Linked DNA regions of Homo sapiens: regions 2, 3 and 4 are each linked to region 1. The links are contacts of gene promoters, found by promoter capture Hi-C in blood cells and fetal thymus (Javierre and others, 2016). All regions are on one chromosome and are shown on one strand. Each heading gives the region's core, a stretch centred on a gene start or on the middle of the fragment in contact. The rest is flanking DNA. Distances are from core to core; before and after follow the strand shown.

Region 1 (2,867 bases), core at 368-2,867:
AGCCAGGACACTCTGCTGCAGGAAAATGGGTAACATGGACGGGCCCGACACATAGGTCCTGTGCTCCTCGGGACGGAGACTCAGCCCTCCCTGAGTACAGTGTAATTGGCTTCCCTTGGGACTGTGGGGACGGCTGGGGAGAGCTCAGCTCCCTGGACAGTGCCACAGCTAAGCTCGGGTTCCCAGAGGTTTTGTGCTTTTTTTTTTTCTTTTTCTTTTTTTTTTTTTTTTTTTTTTTTGAGAAGGAGTCTCTGTCGCCCAGGCTGGAGTGCAGTGGTGCGATCTCAGCTCACTGCAACCTCCGCCTCCCGGGTTCAAGCGGTTCTCCTGCCTCAGCCTCCCAAGGAGCTGGGATTACAGGCACCCACCACCACGCCTGGCTAATTTTTTGTATTTTTAGTAGAGTTAGGGTTGGTCAGCTTGGTCTTGAACTCTTGACCTCAGGTGATCCGCCCGCCTCGGCCTCCCAAAGTGCTGGAATTACAAGCATAAGCCACCACGCCCAGCCAGGTGCCACATCCATAGTTAATAGTCACCTTCAACTTTATACTTAATTCCAGTAAGATACAGAAACATCACTCCTAGGCCAGGCGCGGTGGCTCACGCCTGTAATCCCAGCACTTTGGGAGGCCAAAGCGGGTGGATCACCTGAGGTCAGGAGTTCGAGACCAACATGGCCTGGCCAACATGGAGAAACCGTGTCTTTACTAAAAATACAAAATTAGCCGGGCACGGTAACAGGTGCCTGTAATCCCAGCTACTTGGGAGGCTGAGGCAGGAGAATCGCTTGAACCCAGGAGGCAGAGGTTGCAGTGAGCCGAGATCACACCACTGCACTCCAGCCAGGGCAACAAGAGTGAAACTCTGTCTCAAAAAAAAAAAAAAGTCACTCCTACATAGTTCTAGTTACTCCTTCTCTTTGAGCTATCATTATTCACATTACATTTACATATCTTAACAAACCCAGTGATATTCCTAACTTTATTTTTGAGGCAGGGTCTTGCTCTGTCGCCCAGGCTGGAGTGCCGTTGGCGCGATCACGGCTCACTGCAGCCTTGACCTCCTGGGCTGAAGGCTCAGCCTCCCGAGTAGCTGGGAATTTTTTGTACTTTTTATTCTTTTATGTCCGTGTGTACACAAATTTTTGTATTTTTTTGTAGAGAGGCAGTCTCACTGTGTTGTCCTTACTAACTTTATATACAAAATTTTATCTGTTAAAGCCGGAATGGTTCTTTTCAGCGAGGCCCTGTCCCTGCTCCAGTATCTGTAATGAATTCTCGTGTTCCTCCCACAGTGGGACCTGAACCGCCAAACCGCACCTACGAGCAAACGGTAGGCGCTCCATAAATACTTGTTGATGTGGGTGCCATCGTGTAGATGACGGAGCACGAACCCGAGGCTCAGACAGGGGCGGCGACTTGTCCAAAGTCCCACTCCGTGGAGGAAGCGGCTCTGCAGACCTCAGGCGGCGGCTGCTCTAATCCCTGCAGCCTGTGTTTTGCCCTCCAGACGGCAGAGGGCGCGTGTTCGCCGCCGGGAAAGCGGAAGCGCGTGTGCGCGCACGGCCGAGGGGGCGGGACATGCCGGCAGTCTCGCGATAACTGCGCAGGCGCGGACCAAAGCGATCTCTTCTGAGGATCCGGCAAGATGGTGAGTGTTGCGATTTGGCGCGTCTCTGCCGGGCCTATCCGGCTCCATCCAACCTCTGACCGTCTCGCGGGGGCCGCAGTTCGTCCCCGCGGCTACGGCGGCTTGCTCCCGACCCTGCAGGCGGCTGGATGTTGGGGCGAGGGGCGGACTTGGTGGGTGTCGGGACGACGCGGGGCTGGGAAGGCCTGTCCGGGCCTTCATGTCCGGGTCCTCGTAACCCGGAGCCGCGAGTGATCCCCGGGGACGGGTCGAAGCGGTGTGTCCCTGTCGGGCTTCTGTCCCCGGCGGCGCCGCGCGTCTTCCGCGGTGTCCTCGGGCCCGGTGGCCCCGGGAGATGGGTGTCGGGATCCCGCTGACGCCCGATCCGCGCCCGCACAGGCAGAAGTAGAGCAGAAGAAGAAGCGGACCTTCCGCAAGTTCACCTACCGCGGCGTGGACCTCGACCAGCTGCTGGACATGTCCTAGTAAGGGCGGCCGCGGGGGTCGCGGGCAGGGGCTGGGCCAGCGGTGGGGCTTGTCCGGGTGAGGGCGGCGGGGCGGGGGTCCAAGCGCCTCTGCGGCGGTGGGCGGGCACGGTCTCCGCGCGGGTTTGGAACTGAGTGTGGTCTTGCGCCCAGAAAACTGTCCAGAGACGTTGAGGTTTTTGCTTATTTGCAACCTGCCCCCCGTTGTTCACTTTTCCGCGGCTTAGTTGGAAGGTGTAGCCCCTGTCTGTAGCCCACGTGACTTAGAATAAGGGGCTGCGTTAGACTCCTTAGATTTTAAGGGCGGTGGAGGTCGCTGGGTCCTTTCCAGGCAGGGTGGTGGTGGGCATCTGGCTTGCGCTTTTATTTTTTAATTTTTGATTATTTTGAGGCGGAGTCTCATCCTGTCGCCCAGGCTGGAGTGCAATGGCTCCGTCCCAGCTCACTGCAGCCTCCCACTCCCGGGTTCAAGCGATTCTCTTGCCTCAGCCTCTCGAGTAGCTGGGATTAGAGGGCCCCCCCACCACGTCCGGCTAATTTTTGTATTTTTAGTAGAGACGAGTTTCAGTGTTGCCCAGGCTGGTCTCAAACTCCTGACCTCAGGTGATCCACCTGCCTCGGCCTCCCAAAGTGCTGGGATTACAGGCGTGAACACCGCGCCCGACCTTGATTTTTGATTATTTGTGGAAACAGCGTTTCTCTGTGTCGTCCAGGTTGGTCTTGAACTCCTGGGCTCAAGCGACCCTCCCGCCT
Region 2 (2,884 bases), core at 149-2,648, 320 kb after region 1:
TCCAGAGCCAACCTAGTCTTGGTTCAGAAAATCGCATCTCCAATGTGTAGCCACGTCTACAGGGGCCAGGAAATCTGGATGCAGGTGCAAAGCTGGGGCCGGGGTTTGCCCAGAAGGTTTGCACCAAAGGGGAAGTGACAGCCTGACTGTGTCCTCCCCTCTTCCTTCAGCTTTGAGCCCTGATGCAACCCTCTGAGATGGGGGTAACTGGGGGCTCCCGCGAACCGACTGCCTGACCCATCCCCTTCCTCTTCTAGAAAGTGCACAAGCGTTACCCCGGGGGTGGGGGGGGCAGAGGCAACGGGGAAGCAGGAAGGGGCTGAGGCTGGTTTTGGACTCTGCACCGTAGCCTCTGGCCTACAAGACAGAGCATCCTCTAGATTCTGGTCTGGCCCCTCCAGATCCGCAGCCCTGACCTTACCCCACTGGCGGGATCTAGTCCCCTGGGGGTCTCTCTGATTATAGGAGCCCTTCCCCCATCTATCCCAGTTCCCAGGGGCCCCTGGGGCTCACCTGTCTCCAGGTGCTGAGAAAAAGGAGACCCCTGCCTCCCCCCACATTGAAGAGAAGCCCCAGGGACAAAGAGGAGTTTGCACCAGCGACGTCTCAGAAGACAGGGGATCCAGCCTCAGCCTCCGTGGGCTGGAGGGTGACAGGGGCTCTTAGTGGTCACCCCCAGGCTCCAGTGCCTCCAGCGGCCGCACTGTAAAAAGGCCCTGCAATTAGAAGGGGCCTTTGGCAACCCCGAGGCCGGGCAGCCCATTGTACAGTTGGGGAAACGGAGGCCCAGGTGCCCACACATGGGCAGAGGCTGACCCCTGGGGCGCACGGAGGCCCTGACCTAGCCTTAGGACCTCCCTTTTCCCCCACTTCCTCCACAAAGAGGTTGTGGGAAGGGGGCTGTGACTCCGTAGGTGTGAGTGGGAGTCGGGGGAAGCTGAGCTTGCAGTGGGGATCTAGCTCCTGGGGGTCTGTAGGGAACGGGGGGGGGGGGGGACACGTACATTACAGGCGACCGTCCAGCCACACTCCCAGAAACTCCCTGGAGATGGACTTGGGGGTGCCAGGCAGAAAGCCACATCTGGGACTCTGGAGAGAATCACACAGAGACGCGAAATCGGAGACTCTGGGTCGAGGCCCCCAGCCCCACCTGGGCAGAGTCTGTCCTCGGACCCCCGCCCGCTGTCCCCCGGGTACGGCCTGCCCCAGCGGGCGCGGGCGGGCGCAGTGGCCAGGGACGCCGAAGCCCCAAGTCTGGCCGACTTCGGCCTGCTTGGTGCTCGAGTGGGGCCGGGGCGGGCGGAGAGCGAGGCTGCGGGAGGCAGCGGTGGCAGGAGCGGGTGGGCGGGGGCGCTGACGTCAGACCCGGGCCCGGGCGCCGGCGGCCGCTCCCCTGCCACATCCTGGTGGCCGCGCTCGCAGCCGGGCCGGGCCGTGCGCCGCGCAGCCTGGCAGCCTCGCGCGCAGCCACCGGGGAGCGGGCGGGAGTCATGCAGCGGCCTTGAGCACTAGGGGCCGGCGCTGAGGAGCGCGCGCGGCGGGAGGGCAGCCGAGCATGGAGCTGAGCCTGGAGAGCCTGGGGGGCCTGCACAGCGTGGCCCACGCGCAGGCGGGCGAGCTGCTGAGCCCGGGCCACGCGCGCTCGGCGGCGGCGCAGCACCGCGGCCTGGTGGCGCCCGGGCGCCCGGGCCTGGTGGCCGGCATGGCGAGCCTGCTGGACGGCGGCGGCGGCGGCGGCGGTGGGGGCGCCGGGGGCGCGGGCGGCGCGGGCAGCGCGGGCGGCGGCGCGGACTTCCGCGGGGAACTGGCGGGCCCGCTGCACCCGGCAATGGGCATGGCCTGCGAGGCGCCGGGCCTGGGCGGCACCTACACGACGCTCACGCCCCTGCAGCACCTGCCGCCGCTCGCGGCCGTGGCCGACAAGTTCCACCAGCACGCGGCGGCCGCGGCCGTGGCCGGGGCGCACGGCGGCCATCCCCACGCGCACCCGCACCCGGCGGCCGCGCCGCCCCCGCCACCCCCGCCGCAGCGTCTGGCGGCCAGCGTGAGCGGCAGCTTCACCCTCATGCGCGACGAGCGGGCGGCGCTCGCCTCCGTGGGCCACCTCTACGGACCCTACGGCAAGGAGCTGCCCGCCATGGGGTCGCCGCTGTCGCCGCTGCCCAACGCGCTGCCGCCCGCGCTGCACGGCGCCCCGCAGCCCCCGCCGCCGCCACCACCCCCGCCGCTGGCCGCCTACGGCCCGCCAGGCCACCTGGCTGGGGACAAGCTGCTGCCGCCCGCCGCCTTCGAGCCGCACGCCGCGCTGCTGGGACGCGCGGAGGACGCACTGGCCCGCGGGCTGCCCGGAGGCGGCGGCGGCACAGGCAGCGGCGGAGCGGGCAGCGGGAGCGCCGCGGGGCTGCTGGCGCCGCTGGGCGGGCTGGCGGCGGCCGGGGCGCACGGGCCGCACGGGGGAGGCGGCGGCCCCGGCGGGAGCGGCGGCGGCCCCAGCGCGGGCGCAGCGGCCGAGGAGATCAACACCAAGGAGGTGGCGCAGCGCATCACGGCGGAGCTGAAGCGCTACAGCATCCCGCAGGCAATCTTCGCGCAGCGGATCCTGTGTCGCTCTCAGGGCACGCTCTCCGACCTGCTGCGCAACCCCAAGCCGTGGAGCAAGCTCAAATCCGGCCGCGAGACCTTCCGCAGGATGTGGAAGTGGCTGCAGGAGCCAGAGTTCCAGCGCATGTCGGCGCTGCGCTTGGCAGGTAGGAGCGTGGCGCGCAGGGCCAGACCCTGGGGGCGCCGGCTCTGGACTCCCGAGCACCTAGCGGGGCGGCGGCCGATGCCCGGGGCCAGCGCCCCAAGCCCCGCCCGTGCGCCCCGGCAGCCCGGGACCCCCTAT
Region 3 (2,934 bases), core at 244-2,743, 360 kb after region 1:
TTTTTTAAATAGAGGTGGTTTCACCATGTTGCCTGGGCTGGTCTCGAACTCCAGAGCTCAAGCAAGCTGCACACCTGAGCCTCAAAACGCTGAGATTACAGGCAGAAGCCACCACACCTGGCCTGCATGGCGAATTCTGACTATCACTCAAGACCTTCTATGCAGTCCACCCACCCGGTGCCTTCCCCAGCTGGGGCTCCCCCAGTCCCAGGCCCCTCCCTCTGACCCCTCAACTTTGGCTCTCTGAGCCCCTTCCTTGGGCCCCTCATTTCTCAAGGGCCAGACCCAGGGTTGGGGCCTCTAGGGGCTGGGAGGAAACTGGGCAGGCCCAGAGAGCAGGCACCCCAAGGGTGGTCGGGGGGTCCCCAAGGAAGGTGCCCTTACGGCTTCTTACCCCCCGACCCTGCCCCCAGCTTTGTGCTCCAAGGGGTGGCCTTAGGTCTCAAATTTGTTTATTTATTTATTTTTATTTATTTATTTTTTGAGATGGAGTCTCACTCTGTTGCCCAGGCTGGAGTGTAGTGGCGCGATCTTGGCTCACTGCAAGCTCTGCCTCCCGGGTTCAAGCGATTCTCCTGCCTCAGCCTCCCGAGTAGCTGAGACTACAGGCCTGCACCACCACATCTGGCTGATTTTGTAGTTTTAGTAGAGACAGGGTTTCACCAGGTTGGTCAGGCTGGCCTCGAACTCCTGACCTCAAATGATCTGCCCGCCTCCCAAAGCACTGGGATTACAGGCGTGAGCCATCGCGCCAGCCTGTTTATTAAGAGACAGGGGTCTCGCCCTGTCGCCCAGGCTGGAGTGCAGTGGTGCGATCACAGCTTGCTGTAGCCTCCACCTCCTGCACTCAAGCGATCCTCCTGCCTCAGGCTCCCAAAGTGCTGGGACCACAGGCACGCGCCACCATGTCTGATTTCCCTTTTGTTGTTGATGGGGCACGGGTCCAAGAGCTTGGGCTTGACACAGCAGAGGAGCTTCACGGACATTGGCAGCCTCCGACAGGCCTTGACCCTTCTTCCGGCCTCAATTTACCCATCCATTCCCTGGGGTGGCTGAGCTAAGCTGACCTGCTGAGCTCCTGGGCTCTAGGTCATTATTGTGACCGCACTTCCAGTTCAGAGTGCCCCCACATCCTGGCAGAGCAGGGGACACAGGACATCTTCCCACACACACCCCGCTGCCCTGTGCTCCATGCTGCTGGGGCCCCAGCAGAACCTGTGAGGAGCCCCCAGGCTGGACGCAGAATCCTCTGGCCCTGTAGGGTCAGGGCTGGACCAGGGGGAGGCAGCCTGGGGTGATGACAGCCCCATGTTGGCAGGGGGTGGGGCAGGAAAGGCCCCATGTGTGGGGAGCTTGTGGCTGAGTCATGAGGACACCGAAAGCTTCTGAATGACAAAGGTGCAGGGAAGACCCTCCCAGCACAGGAAACAGCATGTGCAAAGGTGCCAAGGCAGCACCTGAGAGTGGGGAAGTCACAAGCCAGAAACTGGGTCCTAGGGAGTCCCTTGGTGAGGCCAAAGAGAGACCAGGCTGGAGAGGTCAGCAGGGGACAGAAAAAGCCTCAAATCCTGGGCCGAGGAGTTCGGGCTTCCCCCACAGAGTGGGAAGCTTTGGAGCAGACGGAGCTGAGTGTGTCCTGGCAGCTGGGCCAGCTCAACCGCACGGTCGTCTTGTGCAAATGAGAAAAATACACCCTTGGCCGGGCGCGGTGGCCTACGCCTGTAATCCCAGCACTTTGAGAGGGCGAGGCGGGTGGATCACCTGAGGTCACGAGTTGGAGACCAGCCTGGCAACATGGTGAAACCCCATCTCTACTAAAAATACAAAATTGGCCGGGCGTGGTGGCGGGCGCCTGTAGTCTCAGCTACTCAGGAGGCTGAGGCAGGAGGATAGCTTAAGCCTGGGAGGCAGAGGTTGCAGTGACTCAAGATTGCACCATTGCACTCCAGCCTGGGCAACAGTGCAAGACTCCCTCTCAAAAAAGAAAAGGCAGGCTGGGCGCGATGGCTCATGTCTGTAATCCCAGCACTTTGGGAGGCCAAGGGGGCAGATCACCTGAGGTCAGGAGTTCAAGACCAGCCTGGCCCACATGGCGAAAACCCATCTCTACTAAAAATATTAAAATTAGCTGGGTGCACTGGCGTGTGCCTGTAATTCCAGCTCCTCGGGAGGCTGAGGCAGGAGAATCACTTGAACCCGGGAGGCGGAGGTTGCAGCGAGCCAAGACTGTGCCACTGCACTCCAGCCTGGGCGACAGAGCAAGACTCTGTCTCAAAGAAAAGAAAAGAAAGACAAGACAAGAAAAAGAAAAAGACGCTCTCTCTCTGGGGGCTACACTTGGGAGTTCAGCTGCCTCCCAGCCGGTGTGTGTGTGTTTTGTGTGTTGCCGGGGGAGGGTGTTTTGTACAGTGCACAACATACCTCACTGTACATAGCCATCCCAGGTACCTGCAGCCTTCCATTTCTCCGTACAGTCTCCTCCCCTGCCTCCTCCTCCTCCTGTCCCTACACACACACACACACACACACACACACACACACACACACACACACACACACACACACACACATAAGCCAGCCTTCCTGAAGGGACTCACAGCCAAGGCCTCCTCTGTGGCAAATTCCATTGCCCCCCTCCTGTGCAAGCGTTCGAAGATGACCGTGTCGGCGCCCTTGGTGTACAGGCAGATGGCGCCCTCTGGCTTTCGAACTGTGGGGGAACAGGCCCTGCTGCCCACAGAGGCTCCCCGTCTGCCCGCCCCACCTTGGGGGGCCCAGGGCTTGGGTGGCGGGGCTCACCCAGCACCGACATCCGTTTGCGCGTGCTGTTGAAGTCCATTATGGCCAGGACCTGGTAGACCCGTTCCTCCCCCAGCTCCATGATCGTGACGGTGTCCTGGGTGCGGGACAGGAACACGTAGCCGAAGTTCCGGG
Region 4 (3,090 bases), core at 81-2,580, 410 kb before region 1:
CCTCCTCTTACATGCAGCTTTCCTTGATTCCTCCGACAGAGCCCCAACTCTCCCTCCAGTTCCTCCAGCCCCAAGCCTCTCATTCTGTCCTGTACTTGCTCATATAGGGAAACAGGGTGGGCGGGGTGGGGGGGTTCCGCCTGTGCTGGCTCATACAGGGAATCCGGGTTGGGGGTTGGTCTGTGCCAGCTCTGTCTTCCTGGGCATGGGCTGGGCCAGAGCTAAGGTCTCCTGAGAGCCAGCACTGCCTGGCAGGAGACTGTCCCGGAGACTTTTTAATAATTTATTATTATTAGGGTTTTTTTGTGTTTTTTTTTTTTGTTTTTTTTTTTAAGACGGAGTCTTGCTCTGTCGCCCAGGCTGGAGTGCAGTGGCGCGATCTCGACTTACTACAACCTCCGCCTCCTGGCTTCAAGTGATCCTCCCACCTCAGCCTCCTCAGTAGCTGGAATTACAGGCATGTGCCCCCATGCCCGGCTAATTTTTGTATTTTTAGTAGAGACGGAGTTTCGCCATGTTAGCCAAGCTGGTCTGGAACTCCTGACCTCAAGTGATCCGCCCGCCTCGGCCTTCCAAAGTGCTGGGATTGCAGGCGTGAGCCACTCGGATTTTTATTTTTATTTATTTATTTATTTTTAGAGAGAGGCTCTTGCTCTGCTGCCCAGGCTGGAGCGTCATGTTGTGATGATAACTCACTGCAGCTTCGACCTCTTGGGCTCAACGGATCCTCCCCCTTCGGCCTCAGCCTCCCAAGTAGCTAGAACTCCAGGTGCAAGCTACCGCACCCAGTAAGAATCCTATTCTCTTTTGGACTGACAAACTCCTACTCATCCAACAAAGCCCCAGCTCCAATGGCCCCTTCTCTGAGGAACCTGCCCTGGTTCCCTGGTCCACCTCCCAGCTAGTAGAGTTCCCTGGGAAGGGGTTAGACGCCTCTAAGTGGCAGAGAGGGGCCCTCATTCCTGCCCCAAAGGTAGCCTTCTCCCCTCCCCTTTCTGGCAGAAGAGAAGTCTGAGATGGAGAAAGAGTGAGAGCCGCCCACGAGCTCTGAGCAGAGAGCCCGCAGGAGTGCCACGTCCCGGCGGCCTCGGCCCCTCCCTGCCTCAGTTTCCCGTGGCATCAAAGGGGGCGAGGGGCCCCTCCAGGCCTCTGGTGACGGGGGTGCTGTGCCCAGGCGGGGGTCCGGGGGCGACCGAGGGGGCTCAGGAAGTCCGCGGCCGCAGGAATTCGGCGCCTCCAGGCCTTATAAGGACATTTGCGCTCCGGGCCAATCAGCGGCGGGGGCGTGGCGCGCGGAGCCCGGCGCGTCCCAACCCCGCGCCAGCCCGGCGGTCCCGTCCCGTCCCGTCCTGTGCGGCCCCGTCCCGCCGCCCGCCCGCCAGCCATGAGCTCCACGCAGTTCAACAAGGGCCCCTCGTACGGGCTGTCGGCCGAGGTCAAGAACCGGGTGAGTGAGGGGCGCCCCTTGTCCCCCCGACAGCGCGGCCGTCGCACGCTCCGACCGGTGCAGGAGCCCCCAGGCGCCCCCGGCACCTCCCGGGCAGGGAGCTTGGAGACCCGGGGCGGACGGGCCCTTGTTCTCCCTGACGCCTGGTGGGGGGATGTCTGCGGGCACCCCCTGAGGCTCCCGCGAATCTTGGGGAGCACCCAGGTCTGAGATCTGGGGGACGAGTGACCCATTCCCCCCCCCAACATCTAGGGGTAGTTGGGTCTGACTTCGTCCCCTCGCCATGGCCCCAGGACCCCCACGTGTGAAGCCCCTGGCGCCCACTCAACCTTCGAGAAGGTCCGTTCAAGGTCCGACAACGCTCTGGGGGTCTGGGGGGGACCCCAGCAACCCCGTCATCTCCTGGCCACACTTCTGCTTTTGGGGCCTCTTAGCTTTGGGAGGGGAAGGGGCATGGCCGAGTGGTTTTTGAGAAGTGTTACCCCCCCACAAACAGGAATTTCCTGGCCTCTGGGACACCTTGGGGGTGTCTTGGGGGGAGGGGCGGTAGCCGCTTTGCACGGTCTTTGTCTCCCATCTGACTAATTTAAACGGATAACAAAGAGGTTCTCTGAAGGTGGCCCTGAGATATGTGGGGTTTTGCAGCCTCGAAAGAAGAGCTGGGGCCCGGCAGGGCGCGGGGGCTCACGCCCGTAATCCCAGCACTTTGGGGGGCGGAGCTGGGTGGATGGCTTGAGCCCAGCGAGTTCGAGACCAGTCTGGGCAACATGGCGAAACCCCATCTCTATAATTAAAAACAAGCCAGGGCTAGGGGAGACACTTTTTAAGAGAGCACTTGTGGTTCTAGCTCAGAGAGGACCAGACACTTCTGCAGGGTCACACAGCAGGGTCCTGGACAGGATTCCCAGGGAAAGTGGGGGGCGGGGGTTGTGATGCGAGACCCACGGACAGGACCGGGACCTGACCCTCCAGGACCTTCCAGCTGGAGGGGGGTGTCGTCCCCGCCCACCCCCTCCCCCGACGCCCACTGGGCACCTGGGAAGGTGTCCTTACAGCTGACTTCTGCAGGGGAAACTGCCTCTGCACGCTCTGAGGGCACCGGCCCTGCCAGCCCCAACAGCCACCTGCCCGGCGGCACTCCAGGGCCGGCAGACTGGAGGGAGAATTCCTGCTTCCCCGCTGTGAGCCCCTGCAAGCCTTCAGACCAGCTCTTGGCCAAAAAGGGAGGCTGAGGCTTGGGGTGGTCAAGGCCTGAGCCAGGGTCCCCAGCCCGGGGCTCACGACTCCTCCTTCAAGGGGCCATCTGCACCCTGCATTCATAGAGCCCCCCGTGCAGTGGGGTGGGCACCCTGCCGCACCCTGCATACAGCCGGCTAAGGGCACCGGTGTCCACAGGGACCCAGAGACGTCGTTCCAGCTGCCCAGGGCCACACAGCCCACAAGTGACAGGGCCAAGACCGGAACCCAGTACCTGCTGGGCCTGCGGAAGTGGGAGCGGGCACAGGAGGGTGGGGCGGCTTCCGGAGACGGGGTGGGGTGGGGTGGGGGCAGGTTGATACCTGCCCTGGCGGGGGTGAGGACAGAGGCTGGAAGAGCCGCTTAGCAGGCTCCCCGCGCAACCCTCAGTCTGTCCGTTTGGAGGG

Evidence for each region. Contacts are between HindIII fragments. The CHiCAGO score rates a contact against its expected background, and 5 or more counts as called.
Region 2: a contact is called between the fragment with the promoter of ONECUT3 here and the fragment with the promoter of RPS15 in region 1, in 1 of 17 cell types (naive B cells). The highest score is 5.9, in naive B cells.
Region 3: a contact is called between a fragment that was not itself captured here and the fragment with the promoter of RPS15 in region 1, in 1 of 17 cell types (naive B cells). The highest score is 8.0, in naive B cells.
Region 4: the fragment with the promoter of CNN2 here is called in contact with the fragment with the promoter of RPS15 in region 1 in 5 of 17 cell types (erythroblasts, total B cells, activated CD4 T cells and 2 more); the score reaches 7.2 in erythroblasts.

Annotation. Positions count from the first base shown.
Region 1 is chr19:1,436,779-1,439,645 of GRCh38, forward strand. RPS15 (ribosomal protein S15) reads left to right here and starts at 1,618. Exons shown (of 4, transcript NM_001018.5): 1 at 1,618-1,650; 2 at 2,029-2,114. The coding sequence starts at 1,648. RefSeq lists enhancers at 1,363-2,233, 1,642-1,861. The HindIII fragment of the contact is 15,360 bases long and covers 1-2,867 here.
Region 2 is chr19:1,752,108-1,754,991 of GRCh38, forward strand. It overlaps ONECUT3 (one cut homeobox 3), which reads left to right and starts at 1,399. Exons shown (of 2, transcript NM_001080488.2): 1 at 1,399-2,747. The coding sequence starts at 1,556. The HindIII fragment of the contact is 18,116 bases long and covers 1-2,884 here.
Region 3 is chr19:1,793,278-1,796,211 of GRCh38, forward strand. ATP8B3 (ATPase phospholipid transporting 8B3) reads right to left here. Exons shown (of 29, transcript NM_138813.4): 17 at 2,800-2,934; 18 at 2,598-2,710. Among named protein-coding and RNA genes, the nearest start is that of ATP8B3, 18 kb to the right of the region's middle. RefSeq lists enhancers at 2,333-2,934, 2,553-2,847 and a silencer at 2,553-2,847. The HindIII fragment of the contact is 226 bases long and covers 1,381-1,606 here.
Region 4 is chr19:1,025,278-1,028,367 of GRCh38, forward strand. CNN2 (calponin 2) reads left to right here and starts at 1,331. Exons shown (of 7, transcript NM_004368.4): 1 at 1,331-1,447. The coding sequence starts at 1,385. RefSeq lists an enhancer at 257-988 and a silencer at 979-1,618. The HindIII fragment of the contact is 13,555 bases long and covers 1-3,090 here.